Linked DNA regions of Homo sapiens: region 2 is linked to region 1. The links are contacts of gene promoters, found by promoter capture Hi-C in human tissues and cell types (Jung and others, 2019). All regions are on one chromosome and are shown on one strand. Each heading gives the region's core, a stretch centred on a gene start or on the middle of the fragment in contact. The rest is flanking DNA. Distances are from core to core; before and after follow the strand shown. Region 1 holds the start of TMPRSS4 (transmembrane serine protease 4). Region 2 overlaps IL10RA (interleukin 10 receptor subunit alpha).

Region 1 (3,477 bases), core at 329-2,828:
ATTCAGCCTGTTCACAAGCCTGGCAGTGTGAACCAGTAAGAGAACCAGGTTCCAGCCCCAACTCTGCCCGAAACTACTTCATGTCCATAGGCTATAGTTTCCTCAGCTGACAAATGGGAACAAAATATTGGGGTTGTTGTTGGAGAATTAAAGGGCTGATACACAGAAGCACGTTATCAACAGAAGGACAAATACACACGTCTAACCCAGGCTGGTCTCCTGGGAGGGTCAGGTCTGAGAAATGGAAGGAGATCTGGATTCATATGGAACCAGACACTAATTCATTATGTGACTTTGGGTCATTGACTTTGCCTCTCTGGAATTTAGTTTTGTCGCCCACAGAATGGGGGAACAATGTGGACAATTATCCAAGTCTCTCCCAGCAAAATATCTGTGGCTGTAAGGTTTCACCTTGCACATCCCCTGGCCAGGGGGCAGCTCCAGCTATCAGGATGTGGCAGAACGTGAATCAGAAATGATCCTGTGGGGCTGGGTGCGGTGGCTCACGCCATAATCACAGCACTTTGGGAGGCTGAGGCAGGTGGATCAGTTGAAGCCAGGTGTTTGAGACCAGCCTGGCCAACATGGCAAAACCCCATCTCTACTAAAAATACAAATTAGCCAGGCATGGTGGCGCACAACACCTGTAATCCCAGCAGCTACTTGGGAGGCTGAGGCAGGAGAATCACTTGAACCTGGGAGGTGGAGGTTGCAGTGAGCCAAGATCGCGCCACTGCACTCCAGCCTGGGCAACAGAGACTCTGTCTCAAAATAAAATAAAATACAAAAACACAAAACTTAGCTGGGTGTGGTGGCAGGTGGCTGTAGTCCCAGCTACTCGAGAGGCTGGAGCACGAGAATTGCTTGAACCTAGGAGGCGGAGGTTGCAGTGAGCTGAGATTGCGCCCCTGCACTCCAGCCTGGGGGACAGAGAGAGACCCTGTCTTAAAAAAAGAAAAGAAAAAAAGAAAGAAAGAAAGAAGGAAATGACTCCGTGGACGAGGAGACGTGGGCTCTAGCCAGAGCACCAATAGTGATTTTCAGAATATTGAACGGCTGCTGAGGCAGGGGCAGGAAGCACTAGTACATTGGCTCTGTGCAGGACAGCTTCACTTCTGGGATCCAGGGAAAGGGGGTACATCTTACCTCCCTAAGAGAAGAAACTCCCTCCTTCTCTGTGGACTTTCCAATCCTATTGCTCCACACCTGGCAATGATCTCTTTGTACTGAGCTGCAAACCCTGTCGCCCAACCCCCAGACCACTCCAACTTCCCACAACCCCAAACCAAAGCACCCACACAGTGAGAAGTCATGCACCTAGAAGGTAGGGGGAGGGGGGGCGGAAACTTCTGGCATCACCCTCAGCCAACACCCAGTTGGGTGGAAGTCATTCAGGCGGGAAGGCTTTTGTTACGCCTTAGGTGTGTCACCTGTTCTGAGGCCGAAGGTCCCATGAATGACTTCAGGTGTTGTTCCAGCCCCTAAGATAGGTGTCAGGTTACAAGACACATAATCATTCCAGTTTGGCAACTTCACTTGTAGGGCTGTTTTAATCAAGCTGCCCAAAGTCCCCCAATCACTCCTGGAATACACAGAGAGAGGCAGCAGCTTGCTCAGCGGACAAGGATGCTGGGCGTGAGGGACCAAGGCCTGCCCTGCACTCGGGCCTCCTCCAGCCAGTGCTGACCAGGGACTTCTGACCTGCTGGCCAGCCAGGACCTGTGTGGGGAGGCCCTCCTGCTGCCTTGGGGTGACAATCTCAGCTCCAGGCTACAGGGAGACCGGGAGGATCACAGAGCCAGCATGGTGAGTGTGGGGCCCTCTGCTCCCAAGACACAGGAAGGGTGGGTCTCCCCATGTAAGGCCCTTCAAGCAGCCTGAGCATCCATCAGCTGAGAATTCTGTGACACCTTCTAGGTTAAAAAAAGAGGCCACACCCAAATCCCCTCACACCCCAGCCCGGTACACGTCTCATACCCACCTGCCTTCCTCTCTTCCTCCATTGCCATGGTCCTTGGACCAGCTCACCTAAGAAGCTGAGCACAGAGCCAGGGCTGTCCTTCCCGACTATTCTTTCCTGAATCCTGCATGTTCTTTTGCCCAATGTCTCCAGGTCTGTTGGTTAGAGGTTGGCACTATTTTTCCAAGGCAGGGGGCTGTTCTGATGCCACGGTTGCCCTCTGCCACTCCCTGGGGAAACTGATTCCTTTTCTTTTTAAAGAAAAGTGTAGACTGGGTGCAGTGGCTCACGCCTGTAGTCCCAGCACTTTGCGAGGCTGAGGCAGACAGATCTCTCGAGGTCAGGAGTTTGAGACCAGCCTGGCCAGTATGGTGAAACCCCATCCGTACTAAAAATACAAAAAATTAGCCAGGCGTGGTGGCAGGTGCCTGTAATCCCAGCTACTTGGGAGGCTGAGGCAGGAGAATCGCTTGAACTTGGGAGGCGGAGGTTGTGGTGAGCCAAGATTGTGCCATTGCACTCCAACCTGGGCAACAAGAGTGAAACTCCGTCTCAAAAAAAAAAAAAAAAAAAAAAAAAAAAAAAGAAAGAAGGAAAAGAAAACAGTGCAGAGATGCCTCCAAACAATCTAGGGTGTTTGTGGTCATCTTTTACTTGGTCTCTTTTCATGCCCTCACCCTCTCTCCTCCTCCTCTGAATACCTGGAGCGTCTTCGCTGTCTTGGGGCAAAGAGAATCAACCCTATCTTTCAAGGAGGACAGCTGAGGGCCAGGGAGGGGAAGAGATAATAACTGGGTCTGAGGAGGAACCCAGGGGTCTTCCTTCTCCAGTCCTTGGCCAAGAGGCAGCAATTGCCCAGCCACCAAAGTGAAAGGGAAGGGAAGAGAGGAAAGGAGAAGCCACTGTCCAAGGGGGAAGGGTGTGACCTGCAGGGGCCCCTCGAGTGATTGTCTCCTATTCCCAACCTGAGCACTTCCCACGACACTCTTCTGAAAATTCTGGCAAGAACAATTCTTAGTGCGGTTGTAGCTGATGATCAGAAAGGGGAAGGGGCTTCCCTTTGAGCCAGGATCAAAGCACAAGCTTCCTGCTTTCCCATCCAAGGAGGCGCCCCAAAGTTTGGCCTGTGTGCAGAGACGCTGTATCCCCTGGGGCTCCCAGGAGAGGAGAGCAGCTGTGGAGTCTACCTAGCTGTGAGCTGCTTCTGGGTGGCAGGCACTGAGGAGACCTGGGGTGTCTCTTGGGGGAGCAACAGAGAAGGGAATCATTTCTAGGGCAGGTCACTAACTGCAGAATCAGAAGGCTGAGGCCAGCTCCCTGATTAGCTGTGCTGTCTTGAGGCATTCATCTTCCCGAGACTCACCTTCTCCCCTGCCCACGGAAACGATATGACCCACAACAGCCCCACGCACATGCACCGGGTTCGCAGAGATTACACAGCTAATACATGTGAGTAGGTTCTGGAAACCATGAAGCCCCGCACAGATGTAAGGACTTAGGACTAAAGAGGAGTCTGT
Region 2 (3,477 bases), core at 397-2,896, 75 kb before region 1:
AGAGGCTAACAGATCCAATGGGAGTCCATGGTGTCATGCCAAGACAGTATCAGACACAGCCCCAGAAGGGGGCATTATGGGCCCTGCCTCCCCATAGGCCATTTGGACTCTGCCTTCAAACAAAGGCAGTTCAGTCCACAGGCATGGAAGCTGTGAGGGGACAGGCCTGTGCGTGCCATCCAGAGTCATCTCAGCCCTGCCTTTCTCTGGAGCATTCTGAAAACAGATATTCTGGCCCAGGGAATCCAGCCATGACCCCCACCCCTCTGCCAAAGTACTCTTAGGTGCCAGTCTGGTAACTGAACTCCCTCTGGAGGCAGGCTTGAGGGAGGATTCCTCAGGGTTCCCTTGAAAGCTTTATTTATTTATTTTGTTCATTTATTTATTGGAGAGGCAGCATTGCACAGTGAAAGAATTCTGGATATCTCAGGAGCCCCGAAATTCTAGCTCTGACTTTGCTGTTTCCAGTGGTATGACCTTGGAGAAGTCACTTATCCTCTTGGAGCCTCAGTTTCCTCATCTGCAGAATAATGACTGACTTGTCTAATTCGTAGGGATGTGAGGTTCTGCTGAGGAAATGGGTATGAATGTGCCTTGAACACAAAGCTCTGTCAATAAGTGATACATGTTTTTTATTCCAATAAATTGTCAAGACCACAGGAATCGTGTGAAACTAGTCAGATTGCTGATGGCACATTGGCTCATGGAGGACTCGGTTGTTGATAATGAGGAGGGTAATAATGTGTGGGATGTGTGATGTCACTTTAAGGAAACAGGGCTGAGGACTCAGGCTTAAATCTGACAGACCCAGGGAGTCCTCATGCTACCTGTATTGTGACCTTGGGCCCATTACTTATCCTCTCCAAGTTTTAATTTCCCCACCTGTCACGTGGAGTTGACAACTCCCCATGAGGATGTTGTGAGGTGTAAATGAAATTGCACATAAAAAGTTTAACATGGTGCCAGGCATGTGGTACTATGTGCCACTAGCTGTCATTGGCTGTTGAGTCTGTAAAGAAAAATGGACAGCTTTTCTTGGAAACAAGTGAAAATGAAAGCGATAAGGAGTGTGCAGCGGGACTCTTTCAGAAGACAGAAAAGGAAGAGGTGGAAAGCACAATGCAACGTTTTGGATGTGAGTTCTGACAATGTGGAGAGAAGAACCTGGAAACCCCTCCTTTCCAGGAAGACAGCAAACTGGGCCTCCCTGGAGCTCTGTTCCCAGAGCCCTGTCCCTGGCTCCCCTTGCCCAGGAGGCATGTCCCAGTGGTGGTTCTCCTAAGTGCGGAAGCCATCTGCACTCTATTCTAGAAGCAGCCTGCTCCCTCCATGAAAAACCCCATGTGGGTTTGAATTTCTCCCCATGCTCAGCCCAGTGGGTAGAACAAACCCAGGCCCGCGGCCTGAGCTTCCTGGGTGTGCTTTTCTCTTCGTCCTACCTGAATCCCCTAGAAGGTGACTGGGGACACCTCACCTCTTTTCCCCTGTGTCATCTCCAATCTTGCCTCACCCAGTTCATTCTGAGAAAATAACTAGTTCTGAGGAAGTGCTGATCCTATCATCTTCAGAGAACTTGACTAATATCACGCCATTTCAGACCTGCTCAGGCTTTTGCCCTAGAGCCCTCCTTGTCAATATTGGAAAGAAAAGTAGTGTTGGTCACTTTCTCCTGGAAATGAGGTGTTAGCGATGGCTTATTCCCCATGGAAAAGGCCCCTAAGGTCTAAATATAAAGATTCAGAGAGTAAAAGGAATTACATTCAAGGAACTGCAGCCAGTTTGGTTGGATACGACAGATCAAAGAGCAGCTTGCAGGACAGAAGGAAGTCAGAAGACACAGCCCTTGGTGCAGGCCCTGCCTGCTCCGTTTCTGTGGAATGAGTAGGAGTTTGCGCTGGTTCATCTCTGCTTTGAGGCTGCTCTGTAACCACTCACCACAGACAGGCCCTTGGGAGAAACTGAGCGAGTCCTTCCAAGCAGCCGGGGCTGATGAGACACTTGCAGATTTCTTGGGAATTTGGATTACAGCCCCCAACAGAAGGCCCCAGCTGTTCTTCAACTGAGCAATCTCCTTCAAGGGCTTTTCCAAGCTGAGGAATGCGTAATGCTGTCTTTGTGTGAGCTAATGGAACTTCCTCTTAGTACAGAGAGGGGGTAAATGGGCCACCATTGAGTGAAGAGGAAATTCAATAAACTGTGTTTTCCCAACTTTGTAAATAGCTATAGTCAGGGTGTGCCTTGTCTACCCAGCATATATTCATCCCCCGGCCTCAGTGTTCACACTTTCACAGAAGACACACAGTCCCTAGGAAGCTGGGTCCCACCCCCAGAGCCCATGCTGCTCTGCTGGGTGGAAGGTCTCTGAGCCCCACATGGGAACAGCACAGCAAGGGAAGCTGTAGGCTGTGACCACCTGGGACCACTGACAGGTCTGCTGCCTAAGTGGCAGGTCTGGGCAGTCAGGGCTGATTTGATCAAGCCTCAACCTAGAGGACCCTAGATACTAGGAAGCTTGACTCATTCATTTCCTGTTGTGCTCATGGGTTAAAAAAGCAAACCCACAGTTTTGGGTTTGAAGTAAACCCCAATTTAAAATTAAATGCATTGTTATTAATGACACACAGCACATTTTCCCACTATCATCTCGATCCTAACTTCACTTAATTTCCCATAAACCTCCAAAAAGGGTTGTGGGACCCAATAAACACTCTGCCGAAGAAGGACTGGGTAGGATAAAACTTGTGTTTTAAGAATATGGCTCTATCCAAAGCATCAGACATGAATCAGAAAGGATGGGGCAGGAGGCAAAGAGACCTGGCTGGAGACTTTTATTGTAGTCAGCATTTCATTTTGTCAAAAAACATTACGAAGCACTTGTTATGTGTTGGACATGGTGTGCAGCCCTGGGTACAGAGTGGTGAACCAAACAAGTGTGGCTTCATGGAGCCTGTCATCTGGTTATGAAGATAAACACCAAGCAAATAAACACAACAAACGTATTACTACAATCAGTGATAAGTGATGTGAAAGAAACTAGTATTCCACATGAAGGATGAGGCAGGAGGCAGAGAAACAGGGTAGGAGGCTGTCTTAGGCTGGGCTACTATAACAAAACACCATGGACTGGGTGGCTTAAACAACAGACATTTATCTCTCACAGTTCTGGAGGTGGGGAAGTGCAGGATCAAGGTGCCAGCTGAGTGAGTTCCCTGGGAGGGCTCTCTTCCTGGCTTGGAGACGGCCTCCTTCTTGCTGTGGCCTTACACGGTGGAGATAAAGAACTCTGGTCTCTCTTCCACTTTCTTACAAGGGCACTAATCCCATCATGGAGGCCCCATCCTCATGACCTCATCTAAACCAATTACCTCCCAGAGGCTTTACCTCCAAATACCGTCACATTGGGAGTGACAGCTTCAACATGAATTTGGGGAAGACAAAAATATTCAGTTCATAAGAGAGGCTTATACAATAGTCTAA

Evidence for each region. The method cuts DNA at HindIII sites, captures the fragments that hold promoters and counts their contacts. A contact is called where the count stands out against the background at its distance.
Region 2: a contact is called between a fragment that was not itself captured here and the fragment with the promoter of TMPRSS4 in region 1, in 2 of the 25 tissues and cell types used here (H1 embryonic stem cells and mesenchymal stem cells).

What each region holds. Positions count from the first base shown.
Region 1 is chr11:118,075,500-118,078,976 of GRCh38, forward strand. It overlaps TMPRSS4 (transmembrane serine protease 4), which reads left to right and starts at 1,579. Exons shown (of 13, transcript NM_019894.4): 1 at 1,579-1,806. The coding sequence starts at 1,804. All of the region lies in intron 1 of SMIM35 (small integral membrane protein 35), which reads right to left. RefSeq lists an enhancer at 1,434-2,029. The HindIII fragment of the contact is 5,819 bases long and covers 1-3,477 here.
Region 2 is chr11:118,000,821-118,004,297 of GRCh38, forward strand. It overlaps IL10RA (interleukin 10 receptor subunit alpha), which reads left to right. Exons shown (of 7, transcript NM_001558.4): 7 at 1-663. It overlaps SMIM35 (small integral membrane protein 35), which reads right to left. Exons shown (of 5, transcript NM_001394165.1): 5 at 2,814-3,477. Among named protein-coding and RNA genes, the nearest start is that of IL10RA, 16 kb to the left of the region's middle. The HindIII fragment of the contact is 4,642 bases long and covers 1-3,477 here.